2 separate regions of the Homo sapiens genome follow, and region 1 is linked to region 2. Evidence: promoter capture Hi-C in human tissues and cell types (Jung and others, 2019). All regions are on one chromosome and are shown on one strand. Each heading gives the region's core, a stretch centred on a gene start or on the middle of the fragment in contact. The rest is flanking DNA. Distances are from core to core; before and after follow the strand shown. Region 1 overlaps ABCA12 (ATP binding cassette subfamily A member 12). Region 2 holds the start of ABCA12 (ATP binding cassette subfamily A member 12).

What was found. Contacts are between HindIII fragments. The study calls those that stand out against the background at their distance.
Region 1: a fragment that was not itself captured here is called in contact with the fragment with the promoter of ABCA12 in region 2 in 3 of the 25 tissues and cell types used here (bladder, small bowel and spleen).

What each region holds. Positions count from the first base shown.
Region 1 is chr2:215,068,407-215,072,617 of GRCh38, forward strand. All of the region lies in intron 2 of ABCA12 (ATP binding cassette subfamily A member 12), which reads right to left. Among named protein-coding and RNA genes, the nearest start is that of ABCA12, 68 kb to the right of the region's middle. The HindIII fragment of the contact is 5,384 bases long and covers 1-4,211 here.
Region 2 is chr2:215,137,313-215,141,147 of GRCh38, forward strand. ABCA12 (ATP binding cassette subfamily A member 12) reads right to left here and starts at 1,314. Exons shown (of 53, transcript NM_173076.3): 1 at 828-1,314. The coding sequence starts at 896. The HindIII fragment of the contact is 12,690 bases long and covers 1-3,835 here.

The DNA.
Region 1 (4,211 bases), core at 1,357-3,856, 68 kb before region 2:
TGGGTGCCTCAATGAGCCTGGTTGTATTCCAATAAAACTTTATTTACAGAAACAGGCAATAGGCTGGAATTGGCCCACAGGCTGTAGTTTGCTGACTCCTGGAAGGATAGCCTTTCTTACAGGCATCTCCCTCCTTCCCCTGCCTTGTTCACTTCCTGTTTTCACTTTCTCCCCCATCCTTCTTTTCCTCTTCCCTCATTGCATCTAATCGACTTAATTCTTTTTCCTCTACTTCTTAATGTTTTCTTCTTTCCTTTTCACTCACTACTTCCTCTTTTCGTTCAATTTCCAATTCTTCTTTTCCCTTTTCCTCCTGCTGCTGCCTTTCCTCCCTGCTCCCCTCTCTGTATTCATTGATGCAGCCAAGAATGCAGTTGTCTCTCAATGTCTTCCTTTACTTTGTCTTTTTCACCACCATAGAAGAATTTTGACTCACTTCCGCAATAAATTCAGGAGCACATTGCTCACTGGCACTGTCTAGAGAAGTGCTATTTTCTATTTATTTTATTATTGCAGAAAGTTATGCCATGGTCTTTTCAGGAATGAAGCTACTTCCATTTGAAATCATTAGGCTCCAGAAATATTCTGTAGGCTGCCTCGGTGACATTTGTACACATTATAGCAATGGTAGAATCGGACACTTGCCACTGTTTCATTCTGTTTTTCTCAAAACAGTTCAGAAGACAACCTAGTTGGTATTTTTATATTTCCAGGTGAAAGGCATTTAGTCTTTACCCCAGTGAAGAATAGAATGATACATTTTGGAAGGAAAATTCTGACTTTTAAAAAAAAAAATATGGAGTTACTCATTTGAGAGCATTTTTTTTTTTCTTAATTTCTTTGGATACAGGGTCACAGTGGCAGAATAAGTGTCAGGCCTTCTGATCGTGCAAATAATGTCTCCTTGTCAAGCACCACAACAGGGACTTAACACCATATCAAGAGTACAGAATGAGAGAAGCATATCAAAAACATCAGCTGTAAACAATCAAATACCTAAATGTGAATTTTCAAAGCATAGGAAAGGAAATGAATCTTAGAAGCATATTTGTAATAATTTATTAACGTTTTTTTTTAAATCTTCTTGTAGTTTTCAAGCACATTTTGTTCTCGGTTACACTTGAAAAGACAAGTTAAATTGTAAATGATATAAACTTGGCCTTTCAAAGTAGTTCGTAACATTATATCAGGAGCCTGTAGATCTGTTCCTGTTCTCCTTCGCATGCACCTTTCATTTGAGGGATCAGTCTACTTACTGAGGGGAGGTGTCCTGTCCACCACCCACCTTCAGATAAAATCAAATACACCAGTTCTTCCTGATTCCAGTCCCTCGGAATGAGGGCTTCTACACCTATGTGGCCTAGAGTGACTTCAGCCTAGGGCTGAAAACCAATATGACTTCGAACTTGCTAATAGAGACTCTAACCTAGTAAAATTGCGTCTTTTTAAGAGACTGGATAAAAAAATAAGCTATTTAAAAGAAAGAAAAAACCTTACATAGTTCTTAGCACAATGCTTCACACATTGTAAACAATTTTAAATATGTGAATAAATGGGTAGCTGTAGGAACCCCTGGGGGAGTCCGAGGAAGACTGCATGACTCAAGACTCTAACCTAATATACATCGTTATGTTTATCGTTTGTAGGACAAAGATTCAAATTGTATTCCAATGTTATAGTAAGTTCAAGGGATAATATTGTGTTATATTCACATGCCTTGTAAAATAGACAGATTTAAATGATTAATAAAATCAATATTTATTGTTGTAGAGCCTTTCAGTATTGATTTTTCTGAAAATCTAACTAATACACATTGACATCCATAAATGTCAACCTCTGGATTTATTATCCACAAAGTGAATCCATTCGCCATCTATTCAATAATATTTACTGGGCAGGTATTGTGTGCTTGGCACCAAGAAAGGTGTTAAGTAGGGTTCATTCTTCTATTTTTTAAAAAATCGTTCATCTTTTTTTTAAATGTTTTTATTATTATTATACTTTAAGTTTTAGGGTACATGTGCACAGTTAGTTACATATGTATACATGTGCCATGCTGGTGTGCTGCACCCATTAACTCGTCAGTCATTTAGCATTAGGTATATCTCCTAATGCTATCCCTCCCCCCTCCCCCCACCCCACAACAGTCCCCAGAGTGTGATGTTCCCCTTCCTGTGTCTATGTGTTCTCATTTTTCAATTCCCATCTATGAGTGAGAACATGCGGTGTTTGTTTTTTTGTCCTTGTGATAGTTTACTGAGAATGATGATTAAAAATTGTTCATCTTAACAGTTAAAAAATATTACTCTGGGTTATTATGGAAAGACAGAAAAAAGAGAGAGTATGTGAATCTGGTTTACAAGGTCATCACAGTTTTATTAAGTAAAATGCATATAGAAATCATTTGTTTTCCTGAACTGCCAGAAATATTGTGTACTAAAAAGTGTATGTTTGAAAACAAACAAAAGACATTGGTTAAAAAATAAACCTTCGGCTAGGAGCAGAGGCTCACACCTATACTCTCGCACTTTGGGATGCCAAGACGGATGGATTGCTTAAGCCCAGCAGTTCGAGACAAAGCCTGGGCAACATGGCGAAACCCTGTTTCTACAAAAAATACACACTCAAGAAAACCCACAAACTATCTCGGCATGCTGGTATGTGCCTGCAGTCCCACCTACTCCAGAGGCTGAGGTAGGAGAATCGCTTGAGCTCAGGAGTTCAAGGCTGCAGTGAGCCATGATCATGCCACAACACTCCAGCCTGGGCAACAGAGTGAGATCCTGTCTCAAATAAAATAAAATAAAATAAAATAAAATAAAATAAAATAAAATAAAATAAAATAAAATAAAAAATAAATCTTCATGGTTTTGAAGGAATTTAACATACATCATTTCATACAAGCTCCATGACAATTCTGTCAGATAGGCAGGGTGAGGGTTTATGCCCATTTTGTAGATAACCTCCGAGAAATCAAGCAATTTGGTCAAAGTCCAAATAAATAATTAATAATAAACAAACATAAACAATAAAATGCCAGAGATGGATCTAGAACTATATGATAGATTACAGTAATGAAAACAACATGTTCAGCTAAGCTTCAGAATCTTGGAGGAGGAAAGAGACTGAGAATTTGAAAAACAGGTACACTTCTAGTTTTGCTGTTGAATCACTGAATCACCAGGGGGTAAATTAACCTAGGACTCTATTTCCACATCTCCCAAATTGAAGATAATGGATTTTGCCATCTCACAGGGCACAGGGAAGATCAATTAGGCAATGCTTGTGTAAGGTACTATAAGCATTGAAGACACAAGGCCCCATGGAACCATGAGTTACCATTGCTCATCGGGCTTCTCTTGCATCATTCATCTTATTTTCCACTTGCTGGCTGTGGCTTCTCTGCTCGACCTGGTCTCCTGGCTCATGCCTTGAGCCAGTGAATGGTTTGGAGTGTTGCATGATGATGCACTTCTCTTCCTAGTAATTCATAATATGTACCTGTATCAACCGCTGTAGTGTTTAAATTACTGTGTGCTCAGTGGGTGTGGTGCCATGATACATTCTCCCTCCTTCTCCCCAGGCAAGTCTTACTTCATAGCACAGATTCTTTTCCAAGTTCAAATCCATTGGCAAAAAGGTAGACTGTAGGTGGTAATGAGGGCTGAGGCAAGATGCCTAATCCTGAAAGCAGTGATTAAGGAGTTCCTGTACTCAAAACGTTGGCACCTGAATATGTTCAATTGCTACAGCCACAAGGAACAAGAACAAACCTTGGGTCATTTGGGTGGGTGTCCTACAATGTCGGGATCTTTCTGACATCCTCTGCATCCCTCATAGCTGCTGCCAAGTACCACAGCCAGACGGATTTTGAAAAGTACAAAAAGTGTCCCTATGGATAGGACATAGGGACATTTTTTGTACCTTGAGACTCTGGCTATGAAACTATAGGCAAGAGGCACTGGGGGAAGATCTCTGCCTTCTTTATATTGTTGGCTTATTGCTATTATTATTTTTTAAGGGAAGCAGAGTTTTTAGAAGGCAGTCTGGACTCAGGACCTTGCTGTCTCTTTGGATGTTATCTCTTTGACCCTTTAGTGTACACTTGAATTGATGGTCAGCCCAGAAGACTCCATAACCCCACCTTCCTGCATGTCCAGACCAAAATGTAGCTCCGTCTTTTCTGAATGTTAAGGAGACCCTGCTGGGTG
Region 2 (3,835 bases), core at 64-2,563:
ACTCATTCAAGGCTGGGAATTACCACTTTAAAATAAAGTATATTGAATACCTTTTTGGATTTCCCCGATTTTCAAACATTCTTCTGAATATATAACAACTCCCAGAAACCAATTCCTTTCTCAATCATCCTGGGAGCCATCTGATGAGGATCTAATAGCTAACTTTGTAATTAGAACGCAAACATTAATGTAAGAGTACAAAAAAGACGTTGCAATGAGCAAGAGAAGATAGATTGTAGTAGTAAAGCTAAGTGATTCAATAATATTCTTAAAACATAGCACATATACATACTCTTGTTTGGTATTCCCAGTAAATGATTTTTAGATACTAAAATTTCTCAGTAGCTTTTCTATACTAATAGCCTTCAAACTATTTCTGTTCTGTATTTTACCTTTCAACCAAACTTTCTATGGCTTTCAGTTTTCCAGTATATTTCTTCCCATTTATTGTACATTTCAAATAATACTTTTCTTTCCTCTATCCCATTTTTAACTACATTAAGAAAAATTCTGAAAGCCTTTTGGCTTGAAACCAGAATTCAACGTTCCAGTTCAGCCAGTAATGAGTCATGTTCTTTTTTTTTTGCCCAGGGCATGTCCTGGTTTACTCTTTAATTTACTGAAATGAAAAGGCTGCTTTTGGGGGCATGTTAAGACTCGCTCCATTAGCTATAAGACAGATAGGGGGATGAATTCTAAATATCTTACTTCCTGCTTTGGAAAATGCCTTTAAACTCTTCTGTTTTCACTTCTCATTAAGATCACATTTTAGGATTACCTGGCGTATTGCCCCATGACCCATACTCCCACACTTTTTTTTAACTCACCGGCTGCCTTTTTACACCTAGCCAATTTTTCCAGACCAGGATCTGAAGCTGATGAAACAGGGAAGCCATCCTTCAAATGCCCCAAATGAGAGATTTCCTCTTCTTTTCTCCACTCCACAAATGAAGAACTGATGCCCCGTCCAACTTGCTGTATGTCAGTGTATCAGTACCCCTTTCACGGCATAGCTTCCTTGAGGGCTGGGGTAAGAAACCCACAGTTCTTCTGTTTCTGCTGGATTTTTCCCTGTGGTTAATCCTTAACCAAGAGGCACTTCTCAATCAACTCTTCTTCCAAAAGAAGGACCCAGATCAGTATCTTTGGGTGGCTTATGCTTATTTTAAAATAATATCCAGTTGCTGCTTGTTGCACGAAGTCCAGACTCAAGAGAGAATGAGCATCATTCAGATAATGCCTCACTGAAAAAAAAAAAAAAGCAGCAGCTGAACCCACACCTCCTACTCTCCATGAAATTAATTGCCTATCCACACCTTAGAGAACATGTCACCTGCACTGGATGCGTCACAGGGACTAGGGGGTGGGACCTTTGCAAGGCCAGTAGGACTTGTCCTACATTCTCTTGTCTTCTTTCCTGCACACAGTGTCTGCTCTAGCAGAGGCAGGGCACAGAGAGCATTTCACAGACACTGGGCCCAGTGACTCTTTAATATTAAAGTGTCATTAAAATGATTTAAGTCAATAAGGCCAGAGCTTAGCTGCAAAGCTCTGAGCCTCAGCCCATCATTAGATATACTAGGGAAAGTGTCCACCTTTAACCTAAAGTTGAATGTTTCGATTTTGGGGGAAGAAACTATGTTGGCCAGGTCCCACCTTTCATCACAATGTACTAGGTTAAGCACAGGGCAGAAAAGGAAAGGTAGGCTGTAGGGGACATAAATTACAAACTGGAGTCCCTCAATTCGTGAGTGGAGATTCACGTGTCTATTACAGACAAGCCACATTGTTTCAGGCTCTTATAGTGAAAGGGGACACAGGCTGATCCAAGACATTTCTATTTCCTCTTTCCATGATACATTCCTCCCTCTCTAAGATCCTGCCTTTCAAAGTTATCCCCAAGTTGACATCTTCAATGAAGCCTTTTTGGATATATCCCATAGGATAGATTCTCTTGCCTTTGAATCATTCTTTGTTGCCCTCTCTCAAGGAACTTAAAGTTTTTGCATTATTTTTATTTGTGTATGTCTTATTTTTCCTACAAGATTATAAATTATTTGAGGACATGGACTATTTTATATCACAGTACTTTACATATCATTAGTGTTCAATACTTGCTGCTGAATGTAATTGAATAAACTACTGGAGCCAAGGCTAGTAGGGTGAAGCTCCCCTTTGATCCTCACACCTACCCTGACTAATCCAGACTTTACTTGCAAAATCCGTTAAAGCATTAAGAGTTCTCCCTTCGCCAGGTGCGGTGGCTCATGCCTGTAATCCCAGCAATTTGGGAGGCCGAGACGGGCTGATCACTTGAGGTCAGGAGTTCAAGACCAGCCTCGCAAACATGGTGAAACCCCGTCTCTACTAAAAACACAAAAATTAGCCAGGCATGGTGGTGGGCACCTGTAATCCCAGCTATTTGGGAGGCTGAGGAGGGAGAATCGCTTGAAACCGGGAGGCAGAGGTTGCAGTGAGCTGAGATGGCGCCACTGCACTCCAGCCTGGGCAAAAGAGTGAGATTCCATCCCCCCTCCAAAAAAAGGAATCTAGCACAGGTCCTGCCTCATAGTAAGTAGTCAATTAATTCTATTAATTGGGTAGCAATGTTTGCTAAGGACTTATTGAATCATCCTAGGAGTCCTATTATATAGAAACTGTCATTATTCCCATTTTCAGTGAAAGAAAGTGATATTTAGAAGTGCCATAACTTGCTGGATTTCACCTAGTTAGCAGTGAGGACAGTGGGAACAGCAGAGAAGGAACTCGAACCTCGTTTCTGTACTGTTAATCTCTGTGCTATGTTTTCTCCAGTCCCATGTATTACACTTCACAGGAAGAGCTGAGAAACAAATGAACATCAGGGATTTTCCCTGTTTCTCTAGGCAGGTCTATAAATCACTTGTAGAGATTTTTTTGTAAGTACACGCATGAAAAATTATGGCCAAAATGAGTTCACAAAGAGTAGTTGCTCCAGGAATTCAGGAGAAGGAAGGCTGCTCTTTTAGGCTTCTTCATAGAGCCTCACGGCACTTCCCAGCCTGGCTCTTGCCAGCTTCATCAGTTGTCTCTCCACCTTCAGCCCTCCCTCCTGCCATCTGCTAGAATACTTTAGATGAGGACTGTTCACTTTCAGGCTTTGGTCATGCTGTTCCCTCTGCCCAAAATGAAATTGTGCTCATTCTCAAATGACTGACTCAAGTGTAACTTCCCCTCTGAAGCCTTTTCCAGCACTTCCACCCACCACACCCCCACCCCCGGCTGAATTAATCACCCCTTCATCTGTTTTCCCATAAAGCTTTGTTCGCACAGATAGCCAACTCCCTTATTACCTTCTAGTATAGTCAGTCTGTCTCTCTGTCCATACTCTGAGCCCCTTGAGTACAGGGACCAAGTCTCATGGAACACCACAATTTTGAGATAAATTCTGTATTCCTGAATGGTGAGAATTCTGACCCAACTAAATCTAAGAGCTGGTCTGAAGTAGTAGAAGATAAAGTTGGAGAGTTAGGGACCTAAAGCCAAAGAGGAGGAGATGTCATATTGCGGATTTAAAATGAAAAGTTCCTGGAAACTCTTCTTAAGAGATAGAGTATGATAAAGCCGATGCTGTGGGATGATGAAAATGTTAGTAGAATGAGAAACTGATTGAAGTTGAGACTTGAAACCCTGTTTTTGAATAGAAAAAACAAGTGAATTGAGTTAGTGATGATGTAAAACAGTTCAGAAATTTTAACAGCAACCAGATTATAATTTTACTCCTTTGTCTCAGCACTGGTTGTTGTGTATAGCATCAGTGACAACTTTGTTTGTTTGTTTGTTTTACCATCAACTG